Linked DNA regions of Homo sapiens: region 2 is linked to region 1. The links are contacts of gene promoters, found by promoter capture Hi-C in blood cells and fetal thymus (Javierre and others, 2016). All regions are on one chromosome and are shown on one strand. Each heading gives the region's core, a stretch centred on a gene start or on the middle of the fragment in contact. The rest is flanking DNA. Distances are from core to core; before and after follow the strand shown. Region 1 has its middle 24 kb from the start of MIR4300. Region 2 holds the start of CCDC90B (coiled-coil domain containing 90B).

What was found. The method cuts DNA at HindIII sites, captures the fragments that hold promoters and counts their contacts. A CHiCAGO score of 5 or more calls a contact.
Region 2: the fragment with the promoter of CCDC90B here is called in contact with a fragment that was not itself captured in region 1 in 3 of 17 cell types (naive CD4 T cells, non-activated CD4 T cells and naive CD8 T cells); the score reaches 8.3 in naive CD4 T cells.

What each region holds. Positions count from the first base shown.
Region 1 is chr11:81,864,811-81,869,291 of GRCh38, reverse strand. No RefSeq gene overlaps it. Among named protein-coding and RNA genes, the nearest start is that of MIR4300, 24 kb to the left of the region's middle. The HindIII fragment of the contact is 7,284 bases long and covers 1-4,481 here.
Region 2 is chr11:83,284,376-83,289,267 of GRCh38, reverse strand. CCDC90B (coiled-coil domain containing 90B) reads left to right here and starts at 2,901. Exons shown (of 9, transcript NM_021825.5): 1 at 2,901-3,395. The coding sequence starts at 3,296. It overlaps CCDC90B-AS1 (CCDC90B antisense RNA 1), which reads right to left and starts at 3,148. Exons shown (of 3, transcript NR_186344.1): 1 at 2,721-3,148. RefSeq lists enhancers at 2,864-3,513, 2,936-3,531, 3,564-3,643, 3,532-4,128. The HindIII fragment of the contact is 4,800 bases long and covers 2,447-4,892 here.

The sequences.
Region 1 (4,481 bases), core at 511-3,010:
AAAAAAAAAGGAACTGAGGCAACTTGGTAAAATATCAAATTTCTGGTGTGGAGAATGTAATAGACAAGATAATACTAGAGTATCTTAGAGTATCTTATAGCTCCAGAAAGTAAGAAATGATTTTAAAAATCCCATAATGATGGGTGTATCAAAAAGGGACATAAGTGTTCTCAATGGCCAAAGCTGGAGCAATTTGTGCAACAGACTAAGTAAAACTTTAGTGTTATAACACAAAGTATAAAATAAATATAAATTAGTCCAGTTATATTTAACTGTTTATTAAACAGTTCATTTATATTAAATAGATTTGATTAAAGTATACTGAATTTAATTACATTTGATTTAAATTTATATTAAATAAATAGGAGCAAACAGACAAACATCCAATGCAAAAGAATTCCAAATAAATTTGATACTCCACTCTCAAGAAATGGAGCATGACTCTCCACTCCTTTAGTGTGGGTTGTGCATGGTGACTTTTCTCCCAAGAGGACAGGATAGAAAGGGAAAAAGCGTAACTTTACAGTGGAGAAACGTGACAACCCTCAGGTTGGTGATCAAGATTGATATTGTTGGGGGTCAGTTATGTTGATATTATGTATAATTGACAGGATGTGTGGAGAACGGCACTCTGTATCTGTGGTCTTTCTTCCCAAAACACATAGCCTTAGTTTTATTTTGGGAAAAACATTAGGGAGACTAAATTGAGGGCTTCTGAAAATAGGATCATTCCATAAAATATCTGATCTTCAAAACTGTTAAAGTAATCAAGAACAAAGAAAGTTTAGGAAACCAGTACAAACCAGCGGACCCTAAGGAAAAATAACAGTTAAATGCAGTATCCTGGATGGAACCCTGAAACAGAGGAAGGAGAAAAAAACTAATAAATTTCAAATACATTATAGAGTTTGGTTAATAACAATTTATCAATATTAGATCATTATTTATGACAAGTGCACCATAGTAATATAAGATAATAATAGGAGAAACCGGAGGTGAGGAATACACAGACTCTACTATCTTCATGATTTTTCTATAAATCTAATACTATTCTAAAATTTATACATGTATCTGTAGGTATATTATAGATATTTACATAAAATACTACACAGCTAAAAATGGGGATTTTGATAGGTGGTTTCTAGAGAATGAATGAGTGAACAATAGCGATATGGTTTGGCTCCATGTCCCCACTCAAATCTCATGTTGAATTGTAATCCCTAATGTTGGGGGAGGGACCTAGTGGGAGGTGCTTGTATCACGGGGGTAGATTTCCCCCTTCCTGTTCTCGTGATAGTGAGTTCTCTGAAGATCTGGTTGTTTGAAAGTGTGTAGCACTTCCCCATTTGCTCTCTCTCTCTCCTTCCTCCATGTGGAGACGTGCTTGCTTCCCCTTCACCCTTCTGCCATGATTGTAAGTTTTCTGAGGCCTGCCCCGCCATGCCACCTGTACAGCCTGCAGAACTGTGAGTCAATTAAACCTCTTCCTTCATAAATTACCCAGTCTCAGGTAGTTCTTTATAGGAGTGTGAGAACTGGCTAATACAAATAGCAAGTACTGGATAAAGACTCTACTCAGGATCAGATTGGTCAGCAATCTGACTATTCTTCAATGCTGTACAGCCCTACTTTGCTTATACCTGGACTTACCTTCAGAAAATAATAACATTCCATTAGGTTAGTGCAAAAGTAATTGCAGTTTTTGCCATTAAAAGTAATGGCAAATATTTTAGTTAAAGACCTTTAAGTATTCATATGCAACCAAACTTAAATTATGAACAATATAGTGTCAAAAATTATCTTTTTTCTTACATATAGTTAAATATAAATGCTCTTGGATCCAGCACAAAATTCTTCTTTCTTTACTTATATGTTCAGGAGCATTAGGTGCATTAAAAAACTGACTTACCTCCCATCGTCCTAACCCAACTCGAAATGAATGATAGACTAAGGGTATATAAGATATAGAAATTTAATTATATTAAACACGCACACACACAAAAAGAGAGAGAGACAAAGAGAGGGAGAGAGAGAGAGAGGGAGAGAAAGAGAGAGAGAGAGAACTAGAACTGGGAGCTTTGAGGGAAAAACAACAGCCACAGAAGATTTAAGTCTCAATAAACAGTTTTATATGCAATTTCCGCAAACATATTTTCATTTGCTATAAAACAGCAAACAGCTTGGGAGGAGAAGCCAGAAATATGCACAGAGAAAGCAAAATAGTGTTAAATAAATACTGGCTTGCAAAAAAGAAATTGCAGGCTATATTGAAATATGCTTATCTTACGGTACTTCAAAATGTAATAAATTTCTCTGACAAACAATAATTTAGTTTGAATTTAAAACAAATTCCCCTTTTGTCCTAAGAAAATACAATGTTAGACTTTGAAAGATGAATGGTTGTTTTTGCTCAGATATTGGTTATTAGCCACATAACTATGCCCTGGTTAGGCTACTTAGATTTTATAGTTGTACTGAGAGAAATTTAGTTAAAGCAATTGTTTGAAAGTTAAGCAAAGATGTCTGAAAAAAGAGAGATGTTAAAACTTATAAGTGAAAGTTAATGCAATTTTCAGTATAAGAAAAAAAAGATTTCAAGGGAAAAACTTGTTTTTTTTTTTTTTGGACAGGGGCTAAAGTGAAACATAGCATGTGTATAATATTTGAATAATTACTTTTATTAGTGTTTGACTTAATACTCATAAAGCTCAAAGCATTTAAGGTTATGAATCAAAAATCAATGAAATCCAAAGAAAGAGTAAATAATCTTGTGCCTGTTCCTTGTTCTATACCAGAATAGAGTAAGATTATATATATATACACACACACACACATACATATGTATAATTTTTTACACATATATATACACATATATGTACATTACACAAAAATATTCACACACGCACCTATGTTCCTAGGGCAGAGAGCGCCAGTGGCTGTTTATTTTGCTTATAGAAATTAGAAAGAATGTGGCTGCTTATTCTTTAAACATCCACTAAATACCTTTATAAAGAAGACATTATTCTTTAAGAATACAGAAATGAAGATTTCTCATAACCTCTTTCTTCATGAGCTTATGGCCCAACAAAGAATATAGAAGAAAATAAAAAATTATAATAGTCTTTCTAGAAAGACTATTGTACCAAATATTTTATTTATGTTTCCCACTGTTCCAGAAAGAATATAAGAAAATTAATAATAATAATAATAATATGACCTGAAAATGGAACAACATGCAATTATGTTCACTGTAACAATTCAGTAACTTAAAAATATTAACAACTTAAATTCCCAGCAAAGGGAATCATTTGAATTAATAATAAAAAATACAGCTAGATATTAAAATATTCTTCACTGCCTTGGAAGTATTTTCATGGAATTATTTTCATAATATAATTAAGAGAAAAACAATACCTAATATAAATATTTTTCAGGAAAAATAATATGCATATAATTATTTAGATTATATATGTATATGTATAATCTCTCTCCACATATACACATATAAACATGCATTATATGTATGCACATAAACACACAAAAAAGAAATAACAGCTGTTTTTGTGATAATGTTTATGACTCAGGGAGAAACAACTGATATAATTAGTTATCATATGTAAATATTTTTTATTTTTGTGTATCCAATTATTTCTACATGTAAATATAAACAAATATAAATCTATATTCTTCTTTTCAGAGAGGGTCAATTTATAGGTTTCTATTTTTATAAGTATGCATTACTTTAAATGATTTTTAGGTGATTTCTATTTCTGACAGTCTGGTGGATTAGATGCTGATGGAAAAGAAGTGAAAGTACATAAAATCTAAAGCATACATTTTTCAATTATTTAAATTTCTTACATATTTACAGGTTAAAAAATATAAATTTTACTCAAAATGTGAACTGTGGAAACTCTTAATTCCACCTTTGACCACATTAAATAACTTTCACTCCCCACATACACAGCTTTTGGATTTTTTTTGTGTGCATCTGCATCCTTCTTGTCATTTATTTATACAAATACAAAAAAAAATCTACCTTTTAATTTTCCTCCTTATTTAGACAAAATATATCATCCTATATATACTGTTATAAACTTCATTTTCTTCCCTAATAAATTCTGGGGGCTTTCCATATTGCTACATAAAATCCTTCTCCATTCTTTTCATGCATGGTTTTTCATCATGTGTATGGAATCCCATGATTTAACAATCCTCCAATATTTGACTATTTTATTACATTTTTGCAAAGAATAACATTGTTCATTTGCCATTTTGTATGTGTTAAGGTATATCTACTTTATAAATTCTATAAATTAGAAATGCGGGATCAAAGAATTGTTTTGTATATATTGCTACCTGGCTAGTAATGTTCTATCTCCAATATAACAACTGAAAATTGCGTTTCAGTTTACTGTTATTTTGCTTTCATTTGAAAGATAATTTTTTGAAGTGTGTATTTTTTTAATTTTTAATTTTAA
Region 2 (4,892 bases), core at 1,652-4,151, 1.4 Mb before region 1:
AGGGAGGTGAAAGATCTCTGCAAGGAGAACTACAAAACACTACTGAAAGAAAGCAGAGACAACACAAATAAATGGAGAAATATTCCATGCTCATGGGTTGGAAGAATCAATACAGTTAAAATGGCCATACTATCCAAAACAAATTACAGATTTAACGCTATCCTTATCAAAATACCAACATCATTTTTCACAGAACTAGAAAAACCTCTTCTAAAATTAATTTGGAACCAAAAAAGAGCCTGAATAGTCAAAGCAATCTTAAGCAAAAAGAACAAAGCAAGACTTCAAACAATACTATAAGGCTAAACTAATCAAAACAGCATGGTAGTGTTACAAAAACAGACACATAGACCAGTAGAACAGAATAGAGAACCCAGAAATAAAGCCACACACCTAAAACCATCTGGTCTTCAACAAAATCAACAAAAATAAGCAACACGGATAGCATTCCCTATTCAGTAAATGGTGGTGGGATAACTGGCTAGCCATATGCAGAAGAATGAAACTGGACCCCCCTACCTCTCACCATATACAAAAATTACCACAAGCTGGATTAAAGATTTAAAAGTAAGCCCTCAAACTATAAAAACTCTAGAAAAAAAACTAGGAAATACCCTTCTTGACACAGGCTTTGGAAAAGAATTTATAGCTAAGTCCCCAACAGCAATTACAACAAAAATAAAAACTGACAAGTGGGACCTAATTAAAGAGCTTCTGCACAGCAAAAGAAATTACCAACAGAGTAAACAGATAGCCTAAGAATGGGAAGGAGAAAATATTTGCAAACTATGCATCTGACAAAGGTCTAACATCCAGAATCTATAAGGAATTTAAACAAACCAAGAAGTATAAAACAATCCAATTAAAAAATGAGCAAAGGACATGAACACACACTTCTCAAAAGAAGACATACAAATAGCCAACAAACATGAAAAAATCCTCAACACCACTGATCATTAGAGAAATGCAAATCAAAACTACAATGAGATGCCATCTCACACCCATCAGAATGGCAATTATTAAGAAAAAAAATTCACATATTGGTTAGGCTGTGAAGAAAAGGGAATGCTTATACTCTGTTGATGGGAATGCAAACTAGTTCAGCCACTATGGAAAGCAGTTTGGAGATTTCTCAAAGAACTTAAAATACAACTACCATTCAACCCAGCAATCCCACTACTGGGTATATACCCAAAGGAAAATAATTCATGCCATCAAAAAGACACAGAGCTGGGCACCGCAGCTCATGCCTGTAATCCCAGCACTTGGGAGGCCTAGGCGGGTGGATAGTTTGAGCCCAGGAGTTCTGGACCAGCCTGGGCAACATGGCAAGACCCCATCTCTACAAAACATGCAAAAATTAGCCAGTTGTGGTAGTGCACACCTGTAGTCACAGCTACTTGGAAGCCTGAGGCAGGAGGATCAGTTAAGCCCAGGAAGTTGAGGCTGCAGTGAGCCATGCACGACTGCACTCCAGCCTGAGTGACGCAGCAAAACCCTGCCTCAAGCCAAAAAAAAAAAAAAAAAAAAAAAGACACATGCAACCGTATGTTCATTGTAGTGCCATTCACGATAGCAAGGACATGAAATCAACCTAAGTGCCCATCAACAGTGGACTGGATAAAGAAAATGTGGTACATATACACCATGGAATATAATGCAGCCATAAAAATAAGGAAATTATACTCTTTGTAGCAACATGGATGGAACTGGAGCCATTATCCTATGCAACCTAATGCCAAGAACAGAAAACCAAATACACATGTTCTCACTTATAAGTAGGAGCTAAACATTGAATATATGATGGTAAACGTGGAAACAACAGGCATTGAGGATCATTAGATGAGGAAAGGGGGAGACGGACAGAGGGGCATGGGTTGAAAAAGCACCTGTTGAGTACTATGCTTACATCCTGTTGGGATCATTGGGACCCCTAACCTCGATATACCCTAAGGTTTTGCGTTTTGTATTTTGAAACTGGTAAGATCAAACTTTTTTCCCAATTTTTTTTTTTTTTTTTTAGATCGAGTCTCACTCTGTCGCCCAGGCTGGAGTGCAATGGTGTGATCTCGACTCACTGCAACCTCCGCCTCCAGGATTCAAGCGATTCTCCTACCTCAGCCTCCTGAGTAGCTGGGATTACAGGCATGTGCCACCACGCCCGGCTAATTTTGTATTTTTAATATAGACAGGGTTTCTCCACGTTGGTCAGGTTGGTCTCGAACTCCCGACCTCAGGTGATCTGCCCGCCTCGGCCTCCCAAAGTGCTGGAATTACAGGCATGAGCCACCACGCCCAGCCATCCCAGTGTTTTAAATAGCAATTTATATTTCCTCTTCATGAATTGTCTGTTAAAGCAGTTGTTGGCGGGAATCAAGTTTTGTTCTTTCAATGTGCTTCGGGCCTTAGAAATGGTGTTTGTTACTTAGTTGACTCTCACAAAGCTTTGAATACATATAGATAGAAACCTAGCCGTAATTGTTTAGAATCTTGAGAGAGTAAGCCACTAACACCGCACAACTGTGTGCCATTTTACAACTTACAGAGAATATTCATGAGTATTAGTGCATTTTAATACAACTACTGTGCATTGTTGCTTTCAGCATTTTACTATGCGGAGCAGTCTTGAGTAACTGAGGTCTGAGAAGGATAAATGGTGAAAATTCAAGGAATTTCTCCTAGAAACGGAGGAATTCGGCTTCCCTAAAGAAAGGACATACCGACTGAAATAGTTGGTCCTCCCGTGCACCAGAGGGTGAAGCAGCAGGATGTGACGCCTCACGAAAAGTGAGCGGCTTGCTGGACTACACTTCCCAGAAGGTTTCGTTGGCCCTCGCACTACGCAATCACCCAGAACGCTCAGCGGCCGAAAACTTCAGGTTCCAGGCTGCTGTGCGGCTAAATGCGACTCCATCTCCCCCGACCCAAGCGCGTAATGGCCGCTGGCTATCTTGGGGGAGCCAGCTGTTGGACTATGCCCCACTGCCAGGAAACAGGCGCCGGAAGGTTCTCTGACAAGATCTCGCTTTCCTAGGGCGGTGAAGGCGTTCAAAGGTCGGGAAGGGGCGCTGGGAGAAGCGGGGCAGCGCTGAGCCATGCTCGCGAACTGTGGGTCTGTCTGTGAAGAGACCCAGTTTCGTGGGACCACGGTGGCGCCTGCGCTGGGAGGTGAGCTTGTGACAGAGCGAAAACTACAATTCCCAGCATTCCTGTGGTGCCAGAACTACCTTGCCCGAAAGCCTGTGCGAGATTTACCCCGTCTTCCGCCTCCCTCCCACCGGAAAACTCTGAGGACATGAATAGTCGCCAGGCTTGGCGGCTCTTTCTCTCCCAAGGCAGAGGAGATCGTTGGGTTTCAAGGCCCCGCGGGCATTTCTCGCCGGCCCTGCGGAGAGGTGAGGCAAGGCGTCGTGTCATAGATGCCTGAGTGCTCTCTAGGGAGACGATGCCCGTGGGGTCGCGCCTGCTCGAGCGAACGGGAAGAGAAGGTGCCACGCCCTCCTCCCGGATTCACGCCTTGTGCTGGGCGACGCCGCTGCCTGCTGCCCCGACTTGCCCAGCTCGCCCCAAGGGGCGAGGACTGAGGAAAGCACTGCCTTTCTGTTCTTAAAGCGAACCTTTGAAGGCCTGGGCTTCGCGCCCGGCTTCTTTCTCAGCCGTTGTTTCCGTTTTTTGGTGACAAGAGGCTAGTAATCTCGTCAGGAGCCAACGTAAGGTAATCTGTGTTTGAGGGTGTCCTGTTTTCTTTTGTGGCCTGATCAAATTTTGATTTTGTTTTTTTAGGTGCTGGCCTCGAGCCCAGGTTTTTGGTAGACAGCATCATAAATTTCAGGCCACGTCTGCCTTATTCTCACTGGAATTCTCAGTACATTTCAGTCACATTGTAGACTTTGGGAAAATAAGTGAATACTGGAACCCACAAGTTTCCAACCTGTTGGCACCCCTGTTAACAGGGTGTCCTGAAGACATCTAACTTTATTCAGAGAAATGTTTCTAGGGCTAGGTTTTTGTTGTCGTCGTTGTTTTTCACCCCCAGTTTTTTAACTTCCCTCCCAGTTTTTAAACCGTTTTAAGGTTGTCCACAAAATAGGCGAATAGGCACCTCTTATCTCTGTTCACCTTCTTGAATCTTCAGTGCCAGGTACGCTGAGCCATTCGGTACCCAAACACTTCTACGCTGTTATTTATACTCCATATTGTTACTTGTGCTATTTTGCTCATTGTTTCATTTTAATCCACACCAGTAACAGCTGCAGTCAAAACTGCAGTTGTTGATCCTCCATCTGTGAGATTGCTGTTTAGCTGCCAGGGTCATTCACAAGGTCTCTTTTGTTAGGTATTTGAGTGTTTAGCATACATACACATTATGATGGATTTTACAAAAAGGAGGTAGCACTTTTGAACTCCAGGAAGTCATCCAGCTGCCATCTTTGTTGACTTTTACATATCCAAATGAAAACAAAATTAAATGTTCTTAGAGAATGAACTTTGAAGTGTATATCATACTGGGAAATAAATGACCATAAGTACATGTTAATGTTTTAACATAAAAGTTATCCCACTTGAATCTGAGTGTTCTTGGAGAAACCTTAAATCTCTTCTTACAACTAGTAGGATTTGTGTCCTTCCTCACTAAACAAATATTGAATGTTTATTTTATACAAGTAGTTTAAACTTGCCTAATAATGTCAATAATCAAGGGATTTGAAAACCTTGACCTCTGACCAATGGAAGGACCTTAGTTATTCTAGTGCAACTAGTGTAGCACGTTAGTAGACCAGCATGTAAGAATATATGCTGTTAATGCCTGTTCTTTTGAATTCCTGACAGAAAAGTAACTGGCTATACACTGAAGTGTTTCAGCTGTAAAATTAGCAGTAAATTAATATAAA